Linked DNA regions of Homo sapiens: all the other regions are linked to region 2. Evidence: promoter capture Hi-C in 16 types of primary human blood cells and fetal thymus (Javierre and others, 2016). All regions are on one chromosome and are shown on one strand. The core of a region is centred on a gene start or on the middle of the fragment in contact, and the rest is flanking DNA. Distances in the headings are between cores, read along the strand shown.

What was found. Contacts are between HindIII fragments. The CHiCAGO score rates a contact against its expected background, and 5 or more counts as called.
Region 1: a contact is called between a fragment that was not itself captured here and the fragment with the promoter of DENND5A in region 2, in 1 of 17 cell types (activated CD4 T cells). The highest score is 5.2, in activated CD4 T cells.
Region 3: a fragment that was not itself captured here is called in contact with the fragment with the promoter of DENND5A in region 2 in 1 of 17 cell types (neutrophils); the score reaches 5.0 in neutrophils.

Annotation. Positions count from the first base shown.
Region 1 is chr11:10,299,861-10,303,878 of GRCh38, forward strand. It overlaps a transcript of SBF2 not described here. Among named protein-coding and RNA genes, the nearest start is that of ADM, 3.2 kb to the right of the region's middle. RefSeq lists enhancers at 2,921-3,000, 3,021-3,200. The HindIII fragment of the contact is 1,320 bases long and covers 1,132-2,451 here.
Region 2 is chr11:9,263,174-9,267,242 of GRCh38, forward strand. DENND5A (DENN domain containing 5A) reads right to left here and starts at 2,177. Exons shown (of 23, transcript NM_015213.4): 1 at 1,788-2,177. The coding sequence starts at 1,896. RefSeq lists enhancers at 709-1,048, 1,209-1,328, 2,409-2,478 and silencers at 1,619-1,978, 2,029-2,128. The HindIII fragment of the contact is 8,855 bases long and covers 1,480-4,069 here.
Region 3 is chr11:10,761,079-10,765,105 of GRCh38, forward strand. CTR9 (CTR9 component of Paf1/RNA polymerase II complex) reads left to right here. Exons shown (of 25, transcript NM_014633.5): 7 at 869-976; 8 at 2,353-2,460; 9 at 2,565-2,801; 10 at 3,034-3,123; 11 at 3,230-3,358; 12 at 3,470-3,653. Among named protein-coding and RNA genes, the nearest start is that of CTR9, 12 kb to the left of the region's middle. RefSeq lists enhancers at 1,263-1,312, 2,708-3,907. The HindIII fragment of the contact is 1,838 bases long and covers 741-2,578 here.

The DNA.
Region 1 (4,018 bases), core at 542-3,041, 1.0 Mb after region 2:
CAGATCATGTCTCTCCTGTCTTCAAACCTGTCAATAGTTTTCCATGTCACCATAAATAAAGTGCAAAATCTTCATGTCGGAAAGGGTCCTATTTACTCTGACCCTGATGACCTCTTTAATCTCATTTCAGGCCTCTTTTCTCTATCATTCTATGCATTCCTATCAAACAGGACTCCTTTCATTTTTTCTAATGTACCAAGTTCTTTCCCATCTCTGAGTGTTTGCACATGCTGTTTCCTCCATTTCGAATATTAGATCCCCCTAGTCTTGCTTTTTCTTCAGAATACTTAACACAGTTTATAATCATGTAAATACATAATTCTGATAAGGATTTGTTTATATCTGGCTACGTCACTAGGCTGTAAGCTCGTTGAGGGTAAGTTTGTTGATGACTGCATTGGTGATTACTGTATGTTGAGAACTTAGCACAGTGCTGGGTATATAATATATAATCAGTAAATATTTGTTGAAAGAATGAAAAAACTATCAATTCATTCAGGCTTATAAATCAGAATTGCTTCTTGGCTGAGCACAGTGGCTCATACCTGTAATCCTAGCACTTTGGTAGGCCAAGGCGAGTGGATCTCTTGAGATCAGGAGTTCAAGACCAGCGTGGGCAACATGATGAAACCACATCTCTATAAAAAGAAAAAAATATATATAAATATATATACATATATAAAATAATTGCTTCTTTCCAGGTGCTTCTAATCTGATATCACAGGATCCCTATCTGGAGACAAGTAGCATGATGGTTGCTTTCATTAACACCATTCTCTTTGGCTATGGATGATTCAAATGGCCTAATCATCTCTTTTATCATCCATTCATTAATGCCATTTATTGTGCCCTCTGTAGCAAATTTCTCTTGAAGTAATTTCATTTTGTCCTGTTACAGGTATTATTGTAACAAGCTTCTTTAGGTTTACTACTTTCTCTTCTCTCTCTCTCTTTTTTTTTTTTTTTCTTTGTAGGGATGGATTTTTGCCATGTTGCCAGGCTGGTCTTGAACTCCTGAGCTCAAGAGATCCACTTGCCTCAGCCTCCCAAAGTGCTAGGATTACAGGCACGAGCCACTGTACTGGACCATCTCTTCTCTTTCATTTGTTCTGCAGTAATTTACCTTATTTAAGCTTCAGGGAGGTTTGCCTTCTGGCTTTACCATGTACAAGAACTGACTGTTACTCTCTGCCTGTTTTGTACAGGAGCACAAAAATGAGGCAGCAAACGCATTACTTTTCTTTATGCTGATGCTCTGGAAAATATTATGCCCTAAAGAGGGAGGTTAACTGTCCTCCTTGCCCTTACCACTATAAACCAGACAGAAATTTAAAATATGGAAACAGTGTTTTTTATTCTGTGTCAGGGTTTTAAACTTGGTCAACCTCCCGGAACTGTATGCCTATTTTATACTTTAATCGGTTTATGTACATGTTCATTTTTCTGGAAAGGATCTATATTTTTATTAGGTCCTTAGAGAAGTCAGAGATCCCAAAAAAGTGCCCTGGGCTTTGTATCCTGCTTTACTTCTCCTTGTAAGTGATCAAATCCACAAGGCTGATTGTGTTCTTTCTCTAAATCACTTTGTGTTATGACTTCAGGATGCATCTTGAACTTTGTTTTCAAGTGAACTTTGTAAACAAGTCCTCAGCTTAAAAGACATTTTGAACTATATTAATAATAAATGCATCATAAAATTTCCTGTTTGATAAAGGAGGCATCTGAGATAATTATGCAATGCACTTAGCTACTCACATTTTAGTTATTCTTATTAATATCATTGATATTTATTATTTTTCAATGCTTCTCTGAAAGACCTGAGTATGGCCACTCTGGCTTTAAGAACTGTGTCCACAGTGCTAGCTGAGAAACCACTACCACATATTTTTTTAAACTCCAAACTTTACTAAGAATCAGGCTTGGATATAGGGCCTAAAAATCATTCAATTGGAATGTGAAGAAGTTGAAACACCATTACGCAAAAACCCTTTAGCATATGTGTATGTGTGTCTCCCTAATGTCAGGATGTACACATTTATTACAGTGGTTTGGAGGTTTATTTGTAATCTGACCTTTTGAAATTCTGGAGCACACAAAAAAAGTAGATCTTCATTAACAAGGATTTTTTTTTCTTTTTCTTTTCTCTTTTCTTGCCAGAAATTTAAAGATGTTTCTTCCTTCACTTCCTTCCTTCCTTGTACTGTCCTTGCTCAACGTGAATCTACAATCACTGCCACTTGAATGGATGCAACTTATGTTAATAAATTGCCAGGATCAGAACTCCCACTGCAGCATTTCCTTCTCCATAGAACCACTGAACCAGAAATGCATTCTAGTGATTTTTTTTTGTCGTTAACGATGATTAATTAAACAAACTCGAGATTTCACGAGAAAAAACATAGATGCCCAGATTTAACAAACTCCTTATCTTTTTTCGACTTAAACCCACGAAGCTTTGGGGAGCACTCTAGCCCCTGCTACTCACCCATGCAAGCGGGGTGCGCGCTCGCGCACACACTCACTCACTCCAAGATAGGGGCTTTCTAGGAAAATACTTTGAGCTGCCAATCCAAGATTTTACTTAAAGAATTGACTTGGTTCTCAAGTGACAGATCTCTAAGTGCCAGAGCGGCAAAGTGCACCAGGCTGATAAAGTGCATGCCAAGACTCTCAGGTGGGAATTCTTGTCACAGCCAAGAGGTTGCTGGCATAGGCACCCGAGGCTGGCAGAGCCTAGCCTCTGAGTCTCCCTACACTCCTGGGCTTGCTTTCCTTTTTGAAGCTGCCTGCAGCTCAAAGAGGAGTTTGAACCAAGGGCACTTGCTTCGCGATCCTCCTGGCAGAGCCACAGCTCAAGTTTCCCCCACGGAATCACGAGCTTTTGTAAAGGGCAGCGAGGAGGCAGCGAGGTGGCAGCGAGGTACAGTCGCAGAGTTCTCTGGAGAACGAACACCCCCGCCGCGCCCCACCCCCCAGGACTGGTGGAGACTGGAAGGAACGAGTCCAGACCACGGGACCTTCCCTGGCCGTGGGCCGACGCCTAGCTGTCCTTGACCTCCCCAGCAGTCGGAGGCGCGCGCGGGAGAAATGAAAGTAAAACCTGTCCTGGCGCGGAACCAAGTGGAAGCTGGCGACAAGTAGGTCGCATCCTCAGAGCGACTGATAGCCAGTCCTGGATCTGCGCGAAGAGCTTGACTCGCAGAGGATAAAGTGAAAGGAAAAGGAAATGGGAGACAAGGGAGAAGAACAATAGTTAGGCTGGGGAGGCTCCTGGTCACCGAGCAGGCGTTCAGTAATAGCTGCTGTCTGCGGTGCAGACGGACTAGTCGCCCGGCCAGGCCACTTCGGTGACTGCCCTGCGCCCAGCCGGGCGGCCGGATCCAGACCAGTGCGCCGCGCTGCACTCCTCTAACCCTCCGCGTCCCAACCCCTTACCAGGGCCAGGGTCAGGGCCCGGAATCTGTCCTCCGTCCTCAGATGGAATTCAGGTCCGCTCAGGTGACTCCTTCCAGGAAGAGTCCTTAAATAACTTCCGCGCGGCCATTTCTTCCCCAGGTGCAATGTCCACTGTTGAGTCCCGAGAGTGAAAAGGCAGCTAAGCCAGCAGTGCGCGGCCCAGACAGACCACTCTGGGCAAGGTCCGCGCGACCCACTGCCCAGCCGCCTTTGCACCGGAGCTCAGAGCCATATGGCAGAGTAGGAAGGAAGCTTAAAGGTCTGCTGGGGACCGGCTCTAAGATGGGGACTCGAGAGATGGGACATGACTCGCCCACCTTCACACAGCGAATTGCCGGGAGGTGAGGACTAGAAGCCTGTTTGGCTAGTGGTCTCGCACCTTTGGCCTCTCCGTCGAGTCGCTGGGCTTCAGGACATTCGATTAGAGGAGTGGTTAGTAGGACCCCAGAAACCCACAAGCACGAAGCAGGAAGCCCCGTGGCTTAGCCTTTCCTTCCCAGTTTGGCCCCCAGGAGAGAAGTAAGAAAGAGAAGAAGCTGTGATGAAAGAGCACAAACGGGTG
Region 2 (4,069 bases), core at 927-3,426:
GTTAAAGCATGAATTTATCATGCTTTTTTCTTCTTTTTCTTTTTTCCCAGACAGAGTCTCGCTTTATCACCCAGACTGGAGTGTAGTGGCGCAATCACCCAGACTGGCGCAATCTCAGCTCACTGCAACCTCCCCCTCCTGGGTTAAAGCGATCCTCCTACCTCAGCCTCCTGAGTAGCTGGGATTACAGGCACGCGCCACGACGCCCGGCTAATTTTTGTATTTTTAGTAGAGACGGGGGTTTCACCATGTTGGCCAAATTGGTCTCGAACTCCTGACCTCAGGTGACCCGCCCGCCTCGGCCTCCCAAAGTGCTGGGATTACCCCTGAGCCGCCGGGTGGTGGGCCACCGCGCCCCGCCTAATTTTTTTTTCATAAGAAACACTGGGCCGGGCGCGGTGGCTCACGCCTGTAATCCCAGCACTTTGGGAGGCCGAGGCGGGTGGATCATGAGGTCAGGAGATCGAGACCATCCTGGCTAACAAGGTGAAACCCCGTCTCTACTAAAAATACAAAAAATTAGCCGGGCGCGGTGGCGGGCGCCTGTAGTCCCAGCTACTCGGGAGGCTGAGGCAGGAGAATGGCGTGAACCCGGGAAGCGGAGCTTGCAGTGAGCCGAGATTGCGCCACTGCAGTCCGCAGTCCGGCCTGGGCGACAGAGCGAGACTCCGTCTCAAAAAAAAAAAAAAAAAAAAAAAGAAACACTGGACTTTTTCTGGTGCCCAAAAACAAAACTGTCTTGTCATCGTTGAAGCCGAGTAAGATTAGTCAACAGGATAATCACTTTCGAAAGAGAAACTTTACAGTGACAGAAAAGTGAAAAGGAGTCCCCCTCATCAGGATGACACAACCTTAAAGTACAACCCGACAAACCTCCACCCACTTGAAACCCACTAACTGGAAACTCCAGACAAAAACTTATTTTCAAAACTGTTACAATTCAAAGACTCCAATGACAGTGCAGTGGAAAATTCACGGGGACTGTATAATTTTCACGGCCTTCTGCAGTGAGTGCCAAATCTGGTCAGGGCCCCATCTTTGACTCCCCTCATCACTTTCCCTTTCAAATATGACTTGAAACGCATCAGAACACACCAAGCCTCTCCAACTACAATGCTGCTACCCTTTTATTCACAAACGCCTCTGTCCTCATAAAGGACATAAATTACTTTTCAAAAAAGGCATGGCCCCGGGATACAAGCCCTTTCCAAGGCTAAGGGAGTTCCTACTCTTCTTGGTGCCGCCCAAGTTCACTTTATTACTTCATATCCCATCCAGACGCGCAGAGCTGCAATCTGACTCAGGGGGCCCAGCCCAGGGCTGGGGTATAACGGTTTTGAGGAACTAGTATCACAAGCTTCTTGGGAAGTGGCCAGATAAACTCACCAAGTTTTTGTTTTCCTTTTTTTTAAGTCTGGGTGGAACTTACTTTCACTAGGACGTGGGACGCCTTCCCTCCCTAATGGGTGCCAGAGGACAAGCTTTCCTTTATTTTAAACGAAGTCACTCAACCTACACCAAACTGAGAACACACAACCCTCCCTCTTTCTGGTCGCCGAAGACGTGGCCACTGCGCAGCGGGCCGTAGGTTTGGACCCCTCATGGCTCAGAGCCCCTCATCCGTTTCCCCCCTCCAGTCCAAAGCCCCCTTCGCCCGCGCCCGCCCTGGTCCTCCCGGCCGACACTCGCCCGGCTCCCGGGACAAAGCGGGGCTGAAGGAAGGTTTCTTCTGGGGTCCCCGACGACAGCGGGCGCGGGAAAGCGCCCCGGGCTCGGCGCGCACTCACCCGACAGCTCGTCCGGCTCCAGCCCGGTCTCCGTGTCCAGTCCGCAGATGACAAAGTAGTCGGCGAAGCGACTGGGCGCCGAGCCCCCTCCGCCGCCGCCGCCACTCATGGCGCCGGGGCCGAGACCGGCCGGGCAGTGCGGAGCGGCACCGAGCCCCCGCAACCCGGGCGCCCGCCCGTCCGCCCTCAGGCCGCCCCTCCCGCCGCCGCCGCTACCGCGGCTCGGGCCGCCGCCCCCGGCCCTGGCCCGGTCCCCTCGGCCGCCGCGGCTGCCGTGACGGGGCGGGGGGGCACCGGGCCGCCCCGCACCGCATCCTGGATGCCTTCCCCTCCGCGCCGCCGCCGCTGCAGCTAGCCGAGAGCGCCGCGGCCCGAGCGAGCCTGGAGAAGGGCGGAGAGCGCGTGGACAGCCCCCACCGTGACCCTCCTCCTACCGCGCCTGCGCAGGCGCCGTCTGGGAGGGGGCGGGCTCCTGGGGGAAAGGATGACGTGATGCTCTTCGGACCCCGCCGGCCGCAGCTTCCCGGGAGGTCGCCGCAGCGCAGCCGGTGACTGCTTGGTCGCCCGCAACTGCCACTCCCCCGGGATTGAGACTCCTTTAGGGAGGGCTGAGGAGGTGCGAGAAGAGTGGGCGCAGCCTGCAGAGCCGGGCATTTGGCCCATGCTCTGCCCCCAACCACCCACCCAGCAAGCAGAGGTCCAGAGATCTTAGCGCGGCCTTGCCATGAGGATGGGGTCTCACGACTGAGCTCGGAAGCTCACCTAATCCTAGCTGCAGCGTGTCAGCCTAGACCCCAGACAGGGCCTTCTCCCTGTCCTCTCTTTTGGCAGGGGCGGATGAGCCGGTTTTATATTTACCCTTATTTTACAGACGGGGAAACTGAGTCTCAGAAAGAAGCAAGGACTTATCCAAGGTTACGCTGAGTCTAAGAGACATAAGCCTGGTCTGGAATCCTGGGCTTGTGGTCAGCTCCCCGTTCCTCGCCGCTCCCACCTCCCAGCCTGCCCTTTTCCCACGCTCTCTCCTTTTTTCTCTGGAAGCCTCCAGAGGCGCCTGCCATTTGGGAGCTCCTCTTCCTCTTCACTCTGTGAAAACTCTCAGATCCACCCCTAAACCTGTTTTCCTGTAAGAGGATAGGGAGGAGGCGAAGGGAAACTTACCTATTGGTCCTTGTCCTAGGACCCTCCGATTTCCTTTCCCATAGAAGCTAGGCAGATGTGTCTTTGTTGGAAACTGGAGATCAGAGGCCAGAAAGGCAACACAGGTATAGTGGTCACTAGCATGGGCTCTAGAAAAAAATGCTCGGATTTCAATCCTGACGATCATTTACTTTTGACCTTGAGCAAGTTAATCTCTAAGTGCCTGGCGTCATGGTTTTTGAGACAATTACATAAGGTAAATGCAAGTACAGGTAAAACAATGAGAATACTGCCTGGAACATGGAAATCACTCAGTAAATATTACAGATTTTTTTTTTCAAGACGGAGTTCTGTCTTGTTGCCCAGGCTGGAGTGCAATGGCGTAATCTCGGCTCACTGCACCTCTGCCTCCCAGGTTCAAGTGATTCTCCTGCCTCAGCCACCCAAGTAGCTAGGATTACAGGCGCGCACCACCACACTCGGCTAATTTTTTGTATTCAGTAGAGACAGGGATTCACCGTGTTGGTCAGGCTGGTCTCGAACTCCTGACCTCAGGTGATCCGCCCTCCTCTGCCTCCTAAAGTGCTGGGATTACAGGCATGAGCCAATGAGCCCCCAGCCTGGATTATTATTATTGTTCCAGAAGGAAGTACTCTTACGGTTTGTTCTGGGAGGCTGCCACTAAGAGCTGTAGAAGGCAGCTGGCTTCCCCAAAGGCTGAGCCTAGGCTCTCTCCTAGGTTCTCCTGGGTACTTCTCTCAAATATTGTTTCCCTTGGGGAGGTTTACCTAGAGGTTATAGCCATTGTCTCTCGGAGCCATAGCACCTGTTCCTCCCTGTATCTAACCTGCCTGAACTAGGGGGAGAAAAGTGGGGAGGAGAAGGTTGCTTCAAAACGCCCATTCATGGTGATGCTCCACCCGTATCCTGCATGCTGGGGACACAGAGACAGTAGAGGGGGATTAGTGAGTTAAACAGTCACAGAGGCTGGGCGTGGTGGCTCACACCTGTAATCCCAGAACTTGGGGAGGCCAAGGCTGGCGGATCGCTTAAGGTCAGAAGTTCAAGACCAGCCTGACCAATATGGTGAAATCCCATCTCTACCAAAAATATAAAATTAGCAGGGTGTGGTGGCAGGCAAC
Region 3 (4,027 bases), core at 410-2,909, 1.5 Mb after region 2:
TTTGGGCTGGATAATTCTTTGTTGTGGGGAACTGTCCCTTCCATTATAGAATGTTTTAACAGCATCCCGGGCCTCTACCCACTAAATGCCGATAGCGTTCCTCCAATTGTGATAACCAAACATGACTTCATCCCCAGTTGAGAACCACTACCTTAGGCCAGAGGAAAAGATTATCTGGACTGGTGTAGATCAATCATGATTCATCCCCCGGGCCTGGGGAAGGGGGGAAGGGAACTTTCCTTCCTAAACTCAAAAGATTTTCACAGGCTACAAAATCTGGATTCTGTTAGCAGGATGTTACCAACCCAAATGGCTGTTGGGTAATCCACCAGTATCAGTCACACGAAGAAAACAGCTCGGATCAATAAAACCAAAGGTGGTAGAGGCCAGGCATGGTGGCTCTCACCTATAATCCCAACACTTTGGGAGATCAAAGTGGGAGGATTGTTTGAGCCCAGGAGGTCAAGGCTGCAGTGAGCTGTGTTCATGCCAGTGTACTCCATCCTGGGCAACACAGTGAGATCCTGTCTGAAAAAAATAAAAATTAATATAAATAAATAAAAACAAAGGTGGCTCTTTGTGGGAGAAGTAGGGGCAGGGACTAATAAAGTAGATGAGATAAGTCTCAAGCAAGAACTGAACAAGAAAATAAAAAGGGGAAAAAAGTGACACACAAAAAAATTAAGGATTAAAAGAGAGATTTAATTACAAATGCAATATAGATATTTAAAATCATAAGAAGCTTCTAATCCGTTTTAGTGTCTGATCTTAGGATTTATAACTTATTTCTTGTGACTAAAGAAAACTTCTTGAAAAGTGCTAATTTAGTATTGTTTTCACTCCACCTTGTTGCAATGTTTTCTTTTAGGCTGATTCCATTAAAAATGGTGTCCAGCTTCTTTCCAGAGCCTATACTATTGATCCTAGCAACCCTATGGTATTGAACCATTTGGCAAATCACTTTTTCTTCAAAAAGGTAGAAGTCATTTATTTTTAAATTCTGATTTTTGTTTTTCTGTACTGCAATTGATATTTTATTTCTTTTTTAAACTTGGAAAGAAATTTGAAAATGTCAGATTTTTTCCCCCCTCCAAATTATAGAGTTTGTTGTATTAGTTACCTGGGGGTACCTACATTTGTTTATTCATTTATTTGCTTAATATTTATTGACCCCTATATACTGTACCCAACACTGTGGTAGTGATGTGAAGATTAGTAAAACATGGTGTCTGTACTCAAGGAGTTCAATTTCATAGAAAGAGCAGCCATGTAAACAAATGTAAGTGTAAAAATAAAGGTATCTACTCATTTATGGTAGAGAAATGAGGAAGTGGTCAGATGGCTTAGGTGAATTTTCACCAAGGCTGCAGAGCTTTTGAACTAGGTTTTTAGGAAGAGGTCACTAGAGAGTTGAAAAGGGAAAGACACACAAATCTATGAAATAGTGTATAATATACTTATGGTAGGCAATGCTTTGGATTCAGATAGTGGAGCATTTTTGTAATACCAGAATTTGGACATGCTATGTAGGGAACAAGGAGTCACTGACATTTTTATTTTGCATGTTAATCATGTTGTATTTTTTAAGTTGCCACTAATTCTGTAGAAGCAGTGGTATTTTAGGTTTCTTAAAATACTAAATCTACTGGGAGTAGTGGCTCATGCCTGTAATCCCAGCATTTTGAGGGGCCTAGGTGGGAGGATTGCTTGAGCCCAGGAGTTCAGGACCAACACTGGCAACATAGTGAGACCTCATCTCTACAGAAATTTTTAAAAATTAGCTGGACATGGTGGCACATACCTGTAGTCTCAGTTACTCAGAAGGCTGAGGTGGGAGGATCACTTGAGCCTGGGAGGTCGAGGCTGCAGTGGTGAGCCATGATGGCGCCACTGCACTCCAGCCCATGCAACAGAGTGAGACCCTGTCTCAAAAAAAAAAAAAAGTGCGCTTTATGTATTTACTTATGTAATCTTCACAATAATTCTATGATGTAGGTAATCTTATTCCCATTTTGTGGGTGGATAAGTTGAGGAAGAGTTAATAGTCTAAAGTCAGTAATTCACTATGAAAGGGGAGTATGTTTCTACAGCCAGAGAGAGTAAAGCACTGTGGTTAATAGTTATGTGACCTTAGACTAACCACAGTGCTTTACTCTTTCTGGCTGTAGAAACATACTCCCCTTTCATAGTGAATTATTGATTAGGTTATAACTGTTATAGCACTGAAAGGCAACTATTTATGAAGAAGATGGAAATGTATCTTACAGGTAAACGAAGTGTTAGTCTAAGATAAAACAGCTATGCAAGCTAGTCTTATGAATTCACTCAGTTGACTTTCTGATCTTTGTTCAGGATTATAGTAAAGTCCAGCATCTGGCCCTCCATGCATTCCATAATACAGAAGTGGAAGCTATGCAAGCAGAGAGCTGCTATCAGCTAGCTAGATCATTCCATGTTCAGGTAATTTTATAACTTCTCTAAATGTCTAATCTTTTTACTTATAGTGTTTTAAGTCTTTCCAATACTTTTGTACATATTGGTCTTTTTTAATTTTCATTCTTTAGGAAGATTATGACCAAGCTTTTCAGTACTATTATCAAGCCACACAGTTTGCCTCATCCTCTTTTGTGCTCCCATTTTTTGGTTTGGGACAAATGTATATTTATCGAGGTGACAAAGAAAATGCATCTCAGTGCTTTGAGAAGGTTTTGAAAGCTTATCCTAATAATTACGAAACTATGAAAATTCTCGGCTCTCTCTATGCTGCCTCAGAAGATCAAGAAAAACGAGATATTGCCAAGGTACATCTTTTTTTTAAAGTCTTAGCTGTTTTCTGTTAGCTGTCCCAAAACTCCCATTTCTCATTTCCTGTTATTGCTAGTAGAAATATGATAGAAACAGTTTTGTTAGCTGAGCTTGTTCCAGTTTAGATAACAAACAATGGATTTATTAAACAGACTTACATAGCCCCCACTTTTTATTTTGACAACCTATAGATGGAATACTTCAGCTTAACAATCTCTTTTATCCCAGGGCCATTTGAAGAAGGTCACAGAACAGTATCCCGATGATGTTGAAGCTTGGATTGAATTGGCACAAATCTTAGAACAGACTGATATACAGGTATTTTAGTAATGTTTTTTAATCTCTCATATGATGTGTTTTTTGTAAGCCTGGTGTAGTGTCTCTCTTCCACTTACACCTTTTTCTGTCAATCATGAAAATACAGGGTGCCCTTTCAGCCTATGGAACAGCAACACGAATCCTTCAGGAGAAAGTGCAGGCCGATGTTCCTCCAGAGATTCTCAATAATGTGGGTGCCCTCCATTTTAGACTTGGAAACCTAGGGGAGGCTAAGGTAGGAAAATAGAAATATTTCCTTCTTTTATACTGAATCAAGTTGCATGCACACCTTTTTAAAAAGTGTATAAACTAAATCTTTTAACAGTGTGATTTTTCTTTCTCATAGAAATATTTTTTGGCGTCATTGGACCGTGCAAAAGCAGAAGCGGAACACGATGAGCATTACTATAACGCCATTTCCGTTACCACGTCATATAATCTCGCCAGGCTATATGAGGCGATGTGTGAATTCCATGAAGCAGAAAAACTGTATAAAAACATCTTACGCGAACATCCTAATTATGTTGACTGTAAGGATTTTAAACTTCTTTATGTAATGAAATCCGTTCATTCCCACAAGAGCAGCAAAAATTTAGCCTGAAAAAAATTTAGAATTGATAGTAAAAATTGTTTAAGGTTCTAATGTCCCCATTTCTCCAGGGCAAATTTGTGGCCTTAAAACAAAGGTGCAGCTTTACTTACATTTGTGCTAGAAATAAGCAACTAAAACCAATTGGACCGTATTTCAATGACTAGGTTATCTTCAGTGGGTCAGCTACCTTTGTTAGGCTTTTAACAACTCCTTGGCATATCTGATAATGCATTTACCTTTGAAACATCCTTCTTTGATTTCATATGAACATTCTTACAATGTTTATAATAGTGAGGAAGAAAAGTGCTTTTC